Regions from separate parts of the Homo sapiens genome. Here region 2 is linked to region 1. The links are contacts of gene promoters, found by promoter capture Hi-C in blood cells and fetal thymus (Javierre and others, 2016). All regions are on one chromosome and are shown on one strand. The core of a region is centred on a gene start or on the middle of the fragment in contact, and the rest is flanking DNA. Distances in the headings are between cores, read along the strand shown. Region 1 holds the start of NEK9 (NIMA related kinase 9). Region 2 holds the start of NPC2 (NPC intracellular cholesterol transporter 2).

The links. Contacts are between HindIII fragments. The CHiCAGO score rates a contact against its expected background, and 5 or more counts as called.
Region 2: a contact is called between the fragment with the promoter of NPC2 here and the fragment with the promoter of NEK9 in region 1, in 4 of 17 cell types (naive CD8 T cells, total CD8 T cells, naive CD4 T cells and 1 more). The highest score is 7.3, in naive CD8 T cells.

Annotation. Positions count from the first base shown.
Region 1 is chr14:75,124,976-75,131,700 of GRCh38, reverse strand. NEK9 (NIMA related kinase 9) reads left to right here and starts at 4,653. Exons shown (of 22, transcript NM_033116.6): 1 at 4,653-4,998. The coding sequence starts at 4,780. It overlaps TMED10 (transmembrane p24 trafficking protein 10), which reads left to right. Exons shown (of 5, transcript NM_006827.6): 5 at 1-232. RefSeq lists enhancers at 4,600-4,729, 4,740-4,789. The HindIII fragment of the contact is 1,961 bases long and covers 3,556-5,516 here.
Region 2 is chr14:74,488,095-74,494,819 of GRCh38, reverse strand. NPC2 (NPC intracellular cholesterol transporter 2) reads left to right here and starts at 1,515. Exons shown (of 5, transcript NM_006432.5): 1 at 1,515-1,627. The coding sequence starts at 1,546. It overlaps ISCA2 (iron-sulfur cluster assembly 2), which reads right to left and starts at 1,055. Exons shown (of 4, transcript NM_194279.4): 1 at 975-1,055; 2 at 668-770; 3 at 430-545. The coding sequence starts at 1,045. RefSeq lists enhancers at 973-1,052, 5,831-6,725 and silencers at 1,253-1,532, 1,703-1,762. The HindIII fragment of the contact is 4,485 bases long and covers 1-3,955 here.

The sequences.
Region 1 (6,725 bases), core at 3,404-5,903:
TTATGTGCTTTCCTCCATTTTTGAGCATATTATCCAAAATGGTCTGTATAATATAAATGAGAATGATGCAGTTTAAGTAAGCCTTGTTATACCATTGTCATGGACCCCTGTCATAAAGCCATTTCTTGGTTTGTTTGGGAAAGAGGCATATGGGATTTATACAGATTCACTTGTAAATGTTGGATTGGGGATTTTTGTGTAAATTTTCTCAAATAAAGGCTAGCAGAAACCATTTTAGGTGTACTGTTACTCTTGAGTACTTCTATGTCTGGATTGGTGATAATTCTTCCATATTTCTCTTTTAAATTATGGCAAATTATACCTGATGAATTAGAGAAAAAATATTGTTATTCTTCAGTTACTGCAGATCGATAGTTTATATGAGCTAGTAAAAGATTATCATATTTTGTATGTAATATATGTAAATTATATATATATATATAATTAAGAATCCTTAATTATGCATCCTCAGACCAAATATGGTTCTGTAAGCTAGGCATTTTATTCTCTTTATCTTCTCTCTTTTGGAAACTGTTACTATTAGGTTCGCACAAAAGTAATTGTGGTTTTTGCAATTAAAATTGCAATTGCATAGAATCACTCCTACAGAGAGCCATCTCCCCTGCCTTTCATTCCTAAAAGACCCCCACCCCCCACCCCCGGTATATGAATCCTCAGGACTCACTTTTTAGGCCTATCATATCCAATGCAAAACCCCACTCCAGGAGGTAAACGTCTTTTCTCCTCTCCTTTCACTTACAGTTGAACATTTTTCACAAAGCGACTTTCCAAGAGCCAATATGAAGTGCTTTGCACACCCACTGGCTGGCCTCTTATTTATCCTCTTATCTCCATTCTCCCTCAAATAAATTTTATTATGAATCCATAGTGTGTAAAGTAGTGGTTCCCATTATTGGGGTATAATTTTTTTTTCTTTTCTTTTTTTTTTTTTTTGAGACGGAGTTCACTCTTGTTGCCCAGGCTGGAGTACAATGGCATGATCTCGGCTCACCACAACCTCCGCCTTCCGGGTTCAAGCAATTCTCCTGCCTCAGCCTCCCGAGTAGCTGGGATTACAGGCATGTACCAGCACGCCCAGCTAATTTTGTATTTTTAGTAGAGATGGAGTTTCATTATGTTGGCCAGGCTGGTCTTGAACTCCCAACCTCGTGATCCACCCACCTCAGCCTCCCAAAGTGCTGGGATTACAGGCGTGAGCCACCGTGCCCGGCCCAATACATGCTTTATAAATCATTTATTTAGTCTGCTGCAGTGGTGTCTCATAAAATGTTGAGCTGCATGTATAATTTTAAATTTTCTAGTATCACATTAAAGAAGTAAAAAACAGGTAAAATTTGCTGATTCTCCAGCCTCCCGAGTAGCTGGGATTACAGGCACATGCCACCACGCCCAGGTAATTTTTGTATTTTTAGTAGAGATGGGGTTTCACCATGTTGGCCAGGATGGTCTCGAACTCCTGACCTCGTGGTCTGCTCACCTTGGCCTCCCAAAGTGCTGGAATTATAGGCATCAGCCACTGTGCCCAGCCGAAAATTATTTTTAGTAGTGTATTTAACCTAATATACCCAAAATATTATTTCAACATATAGTTAATATAAAAATGGTTAATGAGATGTTTTGCATTCCATTTTTCATATAAAATCTTGAAAATCCAGTGTGCATTTCAAGCTATACCGCATCTATAGCTTAAAATTAGACTAGCCACAATTCAAGTGTTGAGTAGCTATATGTAGCTAATGGCTACCGTGGCAGACAGTGAAGGGTATAAACTTGGGTTGGTCTTTGGTAGATTCTTTCATCTTGACAGTAACTCTATGGCCCCTGGGAATTTGCCATTCACAAATTGGAAACTAATGCAAAATAGCATTCTAACCATTCACTTGTTAAAGTACAATGTGGAAATAGTTTGGTTTCAACCAAAGGCGCTTTAAAATTTTACACCTTGGCCAGGTGCAGTGGCTCACACCTGTAATCCCAACACTTTAGCAGGCCAATCACTTGAGGTCAGGAGTTCGAGAACCAGCCTGGCCAACATGGCAGAATGCCCTCTCTACTAAAAATACAAAAATTAGCTGGGCATGGTGGCGGACGCTTGTAATCCCAGCTACTCAGGAGACTGAGGCATGAGAATCACTTGAACTTGGGAGGTGGAGGCTGCAGTGTGCTGAGATCATGCCACTGCACTCCATCCTGAGTGACAGAGTGAGACTGTCTCCAAAAAAAAAAAAAAAGTTATACCATTAGAATAAATGTTGACTATTTTTGAACTTATAAATATTCAAAGGTAAGACAATTAGTTTCAGTTATATCCAATATAATGAAGAATTCAGCAGGAATGTCTCTGCTCTATAATAGGACATGTTTCTTCTAGGCTTGTAGTATCTATGCATTATCATTAGAACAATTCAGTTTCAGGCCAACCACGTTATAGAAAACTAGTTCCTCGTTGCAAAGGTGCCAGAAAAAAATGAATTTTTAAGCTTAGGCTGAAATCTATTCAGCCTCTTTGAAAGTCAGCATTCCCAATTTTAAGTAATTGGTTTTTTCCCATTCAACTGAGAAACAATTTATTGAGCATCTTTTCTGTTTAACAGAGTTAATCGAGAATAACAGAATTAAGTTAATAGAATTAACAGATTTAAGCCAAACTAAACTCTGGAGTTTATCTAGATAAACAAGAGGCAATACCTATCCTCAAAGTGCCTTCTAATTAATAGGAGGATGTAGATGGAATGGCCTCTACCTGAAATGATCTCTCTACTTTGTTTAGACTTAACATTTTGTATATTCCTGCACTCACACAGCAAGTTTGGCTTGGACAGATGCCACTCCTAAATGCCTCTCTAGAATCTTGCACTTTAATAGCCCTTATAGAAACTGTTTTAATTGCCTGGTGGTTTTCTGTTACATGTAAGCTCTCTTAAAGTAGGAACTTTTCACAAATCGATATGACACAATGTATTTTTATGTATTTGAGACAGGTTCTCACTCTGTTGCCCAGGCTCGAGTGCAGTGGCATGATCTTGGCTCACCGCAACCTCCGCCTCCCCAGTTCAAGCAATTCTTGTGCCTCAGCGTCCCAAGTAGCTGGGATTACAGGTGTGTGCACGCCTGGCTAATTTTTGTATTTTTAGTGGACACGGGGTTTCACCATGTTGGCCAGGCTGAACTCGAACTCCAGGCTTCAAGTGATCGGCCCTCCCAAAGTGCTGGGATTACAAGTGTGAGCCACCACGCCCGGCTAGGCACATGGCTTTCTCTTAGCCCCATCACATCCTGCTTTTTCAGATTGCTGGGTTCAACTTCCCAGCTCCCTCTTACTAGGTCTGTCACATTAAGCAGGTTACTTAGGTACCTCTGTTTCTGTAAAATGGGAATGTTAGGATAATACATAATACATAATACATAGGATAATACATAATAATGTGAGATAATACGTAAAAAACCTTTAGCATAGTACCCAGAACATAACACTCAATAAATGTTAGCTGTTATGTCTGTGATGTAGACCACATTCTCACAACAAAACAAGCTTGGAGATGAGAAGTTGCCCAAGGTCACATAATTGCCCAAGGTCACATAACTGATGGAACACCTATTGTTCACCGTATTGCTGTTTTCCTACTTGACGGTAGGGAGAACATTATTGCAGATTTCCTGTTCCCAAACAGTGTGTGGCACCAAGTGCTCAAAGAATGTTTCATGATATCATATGGTCAAATATCTGGAAAAACACATAGAATAAATTGAATCTGGAAAAAGAGACGGGGGAGAAGGAAAGTGTCAGGAGAGTTGACTTAAAATATTTTTGGAGTTGTGTAGAAGAGGGAGGGACTTAGGATGGCCCTGGGAGAAAGAACTCGGCCCAGGGACCGAGATGACCGGAGGCAGACATTTAGGCTGTCTATATTATTATTATTTTTTTTTTTTTTGAGACAAAGTCTCGCTCTGTTATCCAGGCTGGAGTGTAGTGCGCGATCTCGGCTCGCTGCAACCTCCTCCTTCCGGGTTCAAGTGATTCACCTGCCTCAGCCTCTGGAGTAGCTGGGATTACAGGTGCCTGCCACCACGCCTGGCTAATTTTTGTATTTTATAGAGACGGGGTTTCACCAGTTGGTCAGGCTGGTCTCAAACGCCTGACCTCAGGTGATCCGCCCGCCTCGGCTTCCTAACATGCTGAGATTACAGGCGTGAGCCACCTTGCCCGGCCATATTATCTTTACTATACTATCTCTCTAAAAAAGAATGCTGTCCAACGTTGGAATGGGGAAGAAGGTGTACACTGGGAATGCTTCCCCAATCACCCTCTTGTCACAGACCTGACGTCAAGATGAGACTGGACGACCTCTGGGCCTCCAAGTTGTATGAGTCCGGACCGGGGAGGCAGAGAAGGGTCAATAGACCCGAGAGGCCGTACCGTCAGTGATGCCCTTGTTCCCGTGGGAGCCCTTCGGTTCCACGCGGTTCCCACCACGCGCCCGCCAACCCTAGCCCGAGGCCTCACTTTGCAGGCCTTCCCCGAAAGCGGGAAGCCTTGGCCGCTAGACTAGCCAAGAGGGTAAGCAAAGGCGGAGGAAACTCAGCCAGGCCGGAAACACAGAGAACTGTTTCCGGGTCGGGGGGCAGGAGCCACCATCGAGCTTCGCGGGGTTGCTGGGCTGACGGATCCGCGGGCCGGCATCTGAAGCGAGCGGGACGCAGCGCGGCCAGGGCCTCCGGGCATACGCAGGCTGGTCCCCAAGGCCCGCGGCCGCCGCCATGTCGGTGCTGGGCGAGTACGAGCGACACTGCGATTCCATCAACTCGGACTTTGGGAGCGAGTCCGGGGGTTGCGGGGACTCGAGTCCGGGGCCTAGCGCCAGTCAGGGGCCGCGAGCCGGCGGCGGCGCGGCGGAGCAGGAGGAACTGCACTACATCCCCATCCGCGTCCTGGGCCGCGGCGCCTTCGGGGAAGCCACGCTGTACCGCCGCACCGAGGTAGCGGCCCTCGGCGCCGGCCGCCCTGTCTGGCGCTGTCGGGTCGCCCCGAGTCCCTCCTTCTCGGCCCCGCTTTCCCAGCGTCGTGAGCTTAGTGCTTTAGGCGCCCACGGGGTATATGTCTTAGGGTCTTCACCACTCTTCCCACTCACCGGCACTAGAAATTGGCTAGATCATTGGTTTGACTAGTCATTTTTGATTGTCCTAAGTCACCTAACCGTCTCTTGAGCTTTAGTTTCCCCATCTGTAAAATGGGCTTACTGATAATACCTTGAAATCATCTTTTTCTTTTTTTTTTAAGATTATCTTGAGAATCAAACGAAGGCTCTGTTCTGTAAATTAAAGTGGTATACGAATGTGAGGTATTGCCAAAACTTCCTTCCTCTCATGCTGTATATATAGTTCTCCAAGGTCGGGGTGAGGAGGAGGGGCATAGCTTCAAAATCCCCACACCCGTGGCAACTCCGTTATTTTTGTCATTATCTTTAAGTTCAGCAGTGATCACTCAGTTGGAAGCTTTTCTTGAAGCTCATTGGGAAGATCTTTGTGTGTTGGTTCTTTATCAGTGTTTATCTTGCAGGGTTTATGCATGGGAAATACTTTGTTGGTATATTCTAAGCCATTAGTTCTTAATTTGGGGGGCACAAGGACCCCTTTGATAACCTAAGCAAAGTAATCTTGCCCCCTCCATCAACACATTTGCACATATGCACATCCTTTGGAGAGATCCATGGATCACGGAATCCCAAGTTAATATATACTAGTGTAAAACCCTGCAGTGATTATTCTACTTCCAAAAACTAACGATACACTAGATTTGATCATAAAATCTTACTTTAGGGTAAACATTTAATGAGAACTTGCTGGGGTTGCTGAAGGTGATTCATCCGTCGGAAATCCATCTGCAGTTCTGGTGTGTGTTCCAAGCCAGCATACTTTTAAGGCTGAAAGATGGAGAAGGAGAGAAGTGGTTGCAAGAGAATATTTTTAAGTGTTCTTTTTTATCCTGATGCCACGTTAATGTATGATGTTAGAGTTAGTTATTCTTAGTAGTCTGTTTTCTTTTTTGCACTCAAAATGAGAAAGAGGAGATAAGGATTGTTATTTCTATATTTTAGTTAGAGAAACTAAAACAGTATACTTAAGTGACTTGCTCACTTAAGTTACAAGTAAATCTTGGACTAGAACTAAAGTCTCACATCTTGCCCATTGCCTTTTTATTATTATCCTGTTGAACTTGATTACTGGGTTGGTTTTGAGTTAAATTTGATTACACTTCCCAAAAATTGCATAGCGTTGTCCATATCACCAAATATTTATTAGATCTGTGAATTTACAAAAGTTCAGAAGCACTCTTTTTCTCTAGAAGCTTATATTTCAGTAGGAAAATAAGTTGACCATTGTTAGTAAACAAATAGCATTAAGTTGCATATGTAGAGATATGAAAAGAATGAACAAATATCATTTCAGTGTATGGGGTCTAAAAATTAAAGACATGGTTACAGTAAAAGCTTCATCAGAGTCTTTTCAAAAACACTGTAAAGGCTTGGCAGAGGCATTCAAAAGGATGGGGAGGGTTACATAGGTGGAGATGCTCCTGGGCTAGGAAGCAGGGTCAGCAAAGAATGAGGCGAGGCACAGTGGCTCATGCCTATAATCCCAACACCTGGGAGGCCAAGGTGGTCGGGTCGCTTGAGGCCAGGAGTTCTAGACCAGCCTGGGCAACA
Region 2 (6,725 bases), core at 266-2,765, 630 kb after region 1:
AGACAGGAGGAAGGCATTAAGGAGTATCGCAAACACAAAAAAGACACCCCCTGAGCCCAGAGGTGCACATCCTCTGTTTTCTAAAGTACAGAGGGAGCTTCCCCATTACCTTTAACAGGTGCTGATTTTCTTTGAGGCAAAATGATTCAATGGAATAAATACTGGGAAACGTGTAGGGACTTAAGCCTGGAATCTAGTCCGGCCTGACTTTCTACCGACTACCCAATGGACCTGGGCAGATCAATTTTGCTCCTATAACTTAGTTACTTTGATTCAGAACAACAAACCTTTACTGCATCCTCACTGTGAGACGGGCGGTGTTAACCATCCCAGGTAAACCCTTTAAATTTGGAATAAAAGTGCACCTTAAACTGGAGACACTTTTGTCCCTCCTGTACCTCCTTTGGGGGCCCACCCCTTCCTCCTTGCCTGTCGTCGGGGTTGATAACTGTATCCAGTGAAAATTTGTATTGGAATCCGGAGCATCCACCTCCCTCCACTTGCAGCCTGAGGAATTCTGACCCTTCGGTGATTTCCAAAAGCCTCTGAAATGCAGGAAGGGGGATCAAGAATAGCGGGAAACGGGAGTTAAAGGGCTGAGTGAAGAGCAGTTCCCGCTGCTCCCGCCAATCGCCTGGGTACCGCCGCTCCGCGTCCGGCCTCCTACCTGGACGCAACTGTCTGTGAGGCGGATCTGCCCTTCGCCGGCCTCGGGGCTGGAGGACGACGCCTCCCGACGCGCCTGGGGTCCCAGGGAGGCCGTGAGGAGCCTGCGCGCAAGGGAGGAGGGTGAGCCCGGGAGCAGAAGGGGCACCTTGCAACCCTCGACCTGGAGCGCCTCACGCTAAACCTGGCGACCCCCACCTGGACGGCCTCCCACCAAACCCTCGCATCCCCCACAGGCCTTAGTTTCCCATTTGTCCTAGAGGCGCAGAACCAAACACCCTTTCCAGGTGCCTTTCTAGTCTTGGTACCTGCCCCTCGGCCAGGGAGTGACCGCTCTCTGCGTCGCGGCCGTTAGGGACGACCCCCAGGCGGCAGCCATCTTCCTCCACAAGCTCCGCCCCTCGCGTCTCCCCCGTTTCTCACCCGGGGCCTCGGGAGGCGGAGAGAACGAACAGGAGGCCGGGACTTCACGGAGGCCCCGCCCCCCCAACATGCCTATTGGGTAGTGCGGGAGGAGAAGGTGTCTGATTGGCTAGGAATGCTCCAGACGGCAGCGGCGGGGACGCACCCAGGAAGCCGGAGAGGTGCTCTAAAGGGAAGGAACGGGGCGGGGAGGAGTGAGGCGGGGCGGGGCGGAGGTGGGTCCGGGCGGGTCAGGCCTCTGAGGGGATGGCATGGGCGGAGACTGCAGGCTTCTGGGCCTGAGAGGGCTGGAGCTGGCTTTCCGGAGCCGGGGGCGGGGCGCGGGCGGGCCTCAGCTGTGGTTACTGGTGACAGGTCGCCTGACTGGGCTCCTCCCCGGGCCCGCCCCGACAGGTTTGTCTTGTGACCGCGGGCGGCCGCTGCTTCTTTCCCGAGCTTGGAACTTCGTTATCCGCGATGCGTTTCCTGGCAGCTACATTCCTGCTCCTGGCGCTCAGCACCGCTGCCCAGGCCGAACCGGTGCAGTTCAAGGACTGCGGTGAGCCCCAGGCCCGCCCAAGGTTCCCGCGCCCTCTGTGGAAGGCCCCGCCGGACCCCCGCGCTGAGACCCCTGGGGCTGGGCTGGGCGGATCCCTCGGGCGGCCAGGCTGAGCCTTGGACCCTACCTAACTGGAATGGGCTGGGTCGGGGGAGAAGGCGCCGGCCTCCATGAAACCCGACCGCGCACAACTTTGTTTCTTTCCTTAGAACGCGTGTTTTGGGGTTCCTGGGAACTCCAGGAGGTGGGCCTTTTGCTGAAGTTTCCTAAAGTTTGTAGGGCGGACAACAGAAGGGCTGTATCCAGCTCTGGTGGAGGGGTGGAGCACAGAACTTCTTTTTATTTATGCTTTGTATCTTGGAATCCCGCCTCCCCCTTCCAACTCCTTTTGCTTTTCTTTTAATTTCGTTTTTGCTGACAAGTCAAAAGTCAATTCCCCTTTTTCATCATTTATTGTTACAAATAGGACTTCCTTTGGGCTTTGGAATCTTGTGATTCTTAATCAGTTTTTCCTTGTATAAATCTCATTGTGTCTCTAATCACAGCTTGTGATACATAACTCCCTCTCGCCGCTGTGGTTGGAATCTTTGTTGGAAAATACAACAGGTGGTAGAAATTCTGAGTGCCTTCATTGAGTCGAGTCTATAGAATTGTCGGAACAGAAACTCGAGCAATGTTGTTCAGAGGTGGAGATAGAGAGATAGAACTGTCAATGAAAGAGGCATGAAACTGACTTTGTAAGATCTATGAGTGGAAAGGAAGCACGGAGATCGTATAATCAATCATTGAATTCCAGGGATGTTGGGTAGCCTACCTAAAGTCACGCAGCAGAATGGGGAGCCAGAGTAAGTGTAACCGCCCAAGGGGTTCACCTTGCGCATTGCCTAGACAGAGCGGATTTATCAAGATGGGATTTGCAGTGGCGAAAAGAGTAATTCACGCAGAGCCGGCTGTGGGGGAGGCCGGAGTTTTATTGTTACTCAGATCAGTCTCCCCGAGCATTCGGGGATCAGAGTTTTTAAGGATAATTTGGCGGGTATGGGCTTGGAAAGTGGGGAGTGCTGATTGGTCAGGTTGAAGATAAAATCATAGGAGAGTCGAAGTGAGTTCTTCTTGCTGACCTCTGGGTGGTGTCATTTGCTGCATCGGAATGCAGGATCTGCAAAATATCTCAAGCACTGACCTTAGGTTTTACAATAGTGATATCATTACCAGGAGCAATTTGGGGAGGTTCAGACTCTTACAGCCAGAGGCGGCGTGGCCCCTAAACTCGTAGCTAATTTGTTAGTCCTACAAAGGCAGACCGGTCCCCAGGCAAGAAGGGGTTTTTCAGGAAAGGGCTATTATCCATTTCGTTTCAGAGTTTAAACTATAAATTCCTCTCCAAGACTAGTTCAGCCTACACCCAGGAATGAACAAAGACAGTTTAGAGGTTAGAAGGAAGATGGGTAGGTGAGTCCTGATCTCTTTCACTGTCTTAATTTCCTCAGGATTTTTGCAAAGGCGGTTTCATAAGTTTGCTGCTTTATATCCAGTGCCCAGGTAATAGTAACTGCTCAATGAAATGTGTTGAAAACATAGATGGAAATCTTTTTCCCCTATGTCATAAAAATTCATGTTGAGACAAAAGCAAAGTTGGGGATTAGGGGACAGGATTGATTAAGGAATGGAGTGCTGGCCGATTAACACTTAAATGCTATTCCATTGATTTAGGAGACTGGCACTTGAAAGCTATTATCGCTTCAAATTACTGCCTTTCCCTCCATTAAACTTAGTAGCCAGCGTTTGGATGAAGACACTATTAATTTTAATAACTCATTCCGGCCAGGCACAGTGGCTCACACCTGTAATCCCAGCACTTTGGGAGGCCAAGACGGGCAGATCACGAGGTCAAGAGATTGAGACCATCCTGGCCAACATGGTGAAACCCCATCTCTACTAAAAATACAAAAATTAGCTGGGCATGGTAGTGTGCACCTGTAGTCCCAGCTACTCGGGAGGCTGAGGCAGGAGAATCGCTTGAACCCGGGAGGTGGAGGTTACAGTGAGCCAAGATCACGCCACTGCACTCCAGCCTGGCGACAGAGCAAGACTCCGTCTCAAAAAAATAAAATAAAATAAAATAACTCATTCCATCCTCACAAGCTGTCTTACAGATGAGGAAAGCGAAGCACATAGAGTAACTTGCCCAAGATCTCACACCCAGTAAGTGGTAGGAAACCGTGGGTCTTTGTGAGCCACTTTGGGTTTCCAAAAAAAGAAGGGAAATAAATCCAGAAATTATTCTACTTATTTGAAAAAGCAGGAGTACACCTATGGGAAGAAGCTTTTAAAGGGAAGAAGGGTTTCAGTTACAGATTTATAATTTACTTTTGAATTGGGAAATATGATATAAAGACTTCAGTGCCCACATCAAAGATTTTTGTGTTCCACTCTACACCCACCTTCCCTGGCGTGGGATTTCCTCAAGTGAGAAAGTGGACCAAGCAAACTAATTTTGTAATGTTTGCTGGTTAGAACAGAGGAGTTTGTTCTATTGACACTGGAAGTCTAAGAACCTCTTGTCATCAGAAAACTGGATGAAAGAGCTATAAGTACTACCCTTTACTTACTTCCTACTAGATTATGTGACTCAGCCTTGAAAGAAGCAGGTGGAAGCTGGACATTGAAAGCCTTAACATTAGCACTGATTTTCAATAGATTGTTGATTGAAGTTCGGGATTTCTTTTTTCCCTATTCACCAAAAATGGGTTGGAGTGGAAGAGAGTGTTTCTCAAACTGTTTTGGATGCTTAAGAGTGTGTGCAGTTTAAGAACTTTGCAATGATGGAGAAGCAAGCTGAGGGATAAAGGACTGCAAGGTACTATTTACTGACCTAGCTGGAGCAGTGTTGGTCAGTGTGATGATAGTTAAAGAGACTGTTCCACCCAAGGGTAGGTACAGGCAGCAAAGAACATCTACTTAGATTTCTGAGTTCATATCATACTTTTATAGTACTGAGCTAATCTGGTGACTGACTGCATAGCAGATAATGTACTCTCAACCTGCAGTTTGCCTCTGTCTTCATGCATTCCACTTTTGAGACAGAAAGAGTCCATCCTATTGGCTAGAAACATAATTTCTATCCACAAAGTATATTTGAGGTGAGAGGTCCAGTTTTTGTGTCAGAAGGGAACTTGCTAACCTACCCAGGAGCAGCTATTCTAGATTAAACTCATGGACTAAATCCAGATATGATAATAATAGTAAATATATGTATCACTATGTTCCAAACACTTACCTAAGATCTGTATTTGTGTTAGCTCAGCTACACCATTATCTCCAGAGAGGTAAAGTATCTTGCCTTGAGGCTATACAGTAAGTAGCAGAGATAGTGAGATTTCAAACCCAGGCATCCGGCACCAGAGTCTGCCTCTCAGCAATGATGGCTGAATGGCAGAACTTAACTTACCCTGTTACAGGCACTGTTATCAGGCAGTTCACCTGCATTCTCTCCCATTCAACTGCCCAGTCTCTGGGGCAGGAGGAAATGGGATTTTTAAAGGCTTTATTTAAACCTTTTTTGGTCAAGCATTTATTGTATACAAGTACTTTTGTCCTTGGTTAGACTGAGATTAAAATACATACATACACACACAGACACACACACACACACTTATTTTAAGAACGCAGGTTCCCAAAATCGAGTATACATCTGTAGATTGCAGATGTGTGCTTAAAATCAGTTTTTGAAACTACTTAGAAACAACCTGGACAAGTCAGATGAATCCAATTTCTTTTCTTAAATTTTTTAATTTTGAAAAATATGTATTTGTTTTGAGGATTCCCAGGGATAAATCCTATTTCTGACTCTTTCTAGTACCTTCTTAGGTCTCATCCTTATGTTTTTAACATATGCAGTATTTGCAAGTGTATCATTCCCAGCAGCTATATAGACCTAGGCCAAGTTAATATTTCAGAGGAAATGAAACCCAGACTCAGGTAGCAGTATTCTTCTTTAATGCAGCTGGCACTTCTGCCATCTTGGCTGTGTGAGTCAGTGCTATTTGGAGTTAAGCTTAACTTGTGCCCTAAGCTTGTACTGAAACTATAAAGACCTTAACCTCTGTACTCCTCTTCATCCCCTTGATTCTTGGAAAAAATCCAGATCTTAACAACCTTAGTCAAGATTTAAGGTACTTCCTGTTGTTTTTGGAGCCAAAATATTTCATGACTCATAAGTGGGCCTTAAAGAACAGGACTAAATCATTGAAGAAACTGCAGAAGTGCAGTGAAAATGGTGCAGTTCCCAATTCAGAAGTGGGAGGTAGTTCCTCTCTTAAGGGTCATTCCTAGTTCAGAGATGGTAGGTGGTTTTTCTGTTTAGGGTCACTCCTCTGTTCAGTGTTAAGTGGTAGTTCCTCTTAAATTCCATAGTCTGCTTACTCGGAAGTGAGTAGGCTTCTGGAATCAGTCTTATTTTATTTTATTTTATTTTTTGAGACAGAGTCTTGCTCTGTCACCCAGGCTGGAGTGCAGTGGCGCAATCTCGGCTCACTGCAACCTCTGCCTCCCCAGTTCAAGCGATTCTCCTGCCTCAGCCTCCTGAGTAGCTGGGATTACAGGTGAGCACCACCATACCTGGCTAATTTTTGTATTTTTATTAGAGACGAGGTTTCACCATGTTGGTCAGGCTGGTCTCGAACTCTTAACCTCTTGATCCACCTGCCTTGGCCTCCCAAAGTGCTGGGATTATAGGCATGAGCCACCATGCCCACCCTTGAATCAGCCTAATTTTAAAAGCCAAGACTGATATTCTGACACTTTTCATCGTTTTACCTATACCTTTAATAGTGCTGCTTATTTCTCTAGGAAGTCAAGTTGGGGTGAAAGAAAGAAGGGATTCCAGGAAGACAAAATACTGGGCAAAGGATTTACCAGCAGTTTGGGAGAAAGGGTACAAAATCTGGATAGAAGATACTTCATCACTGAAAATCACAGAGGATATAGGGGTTGAACCTCTACGATAGAAAGAGAATCATGGTGAGGGGCAAAGAGGCGATGCTGAATTAAGAAACCTGAAAAGTTGAGTTTGAGACAGACCTTCATCCAGAGTCCT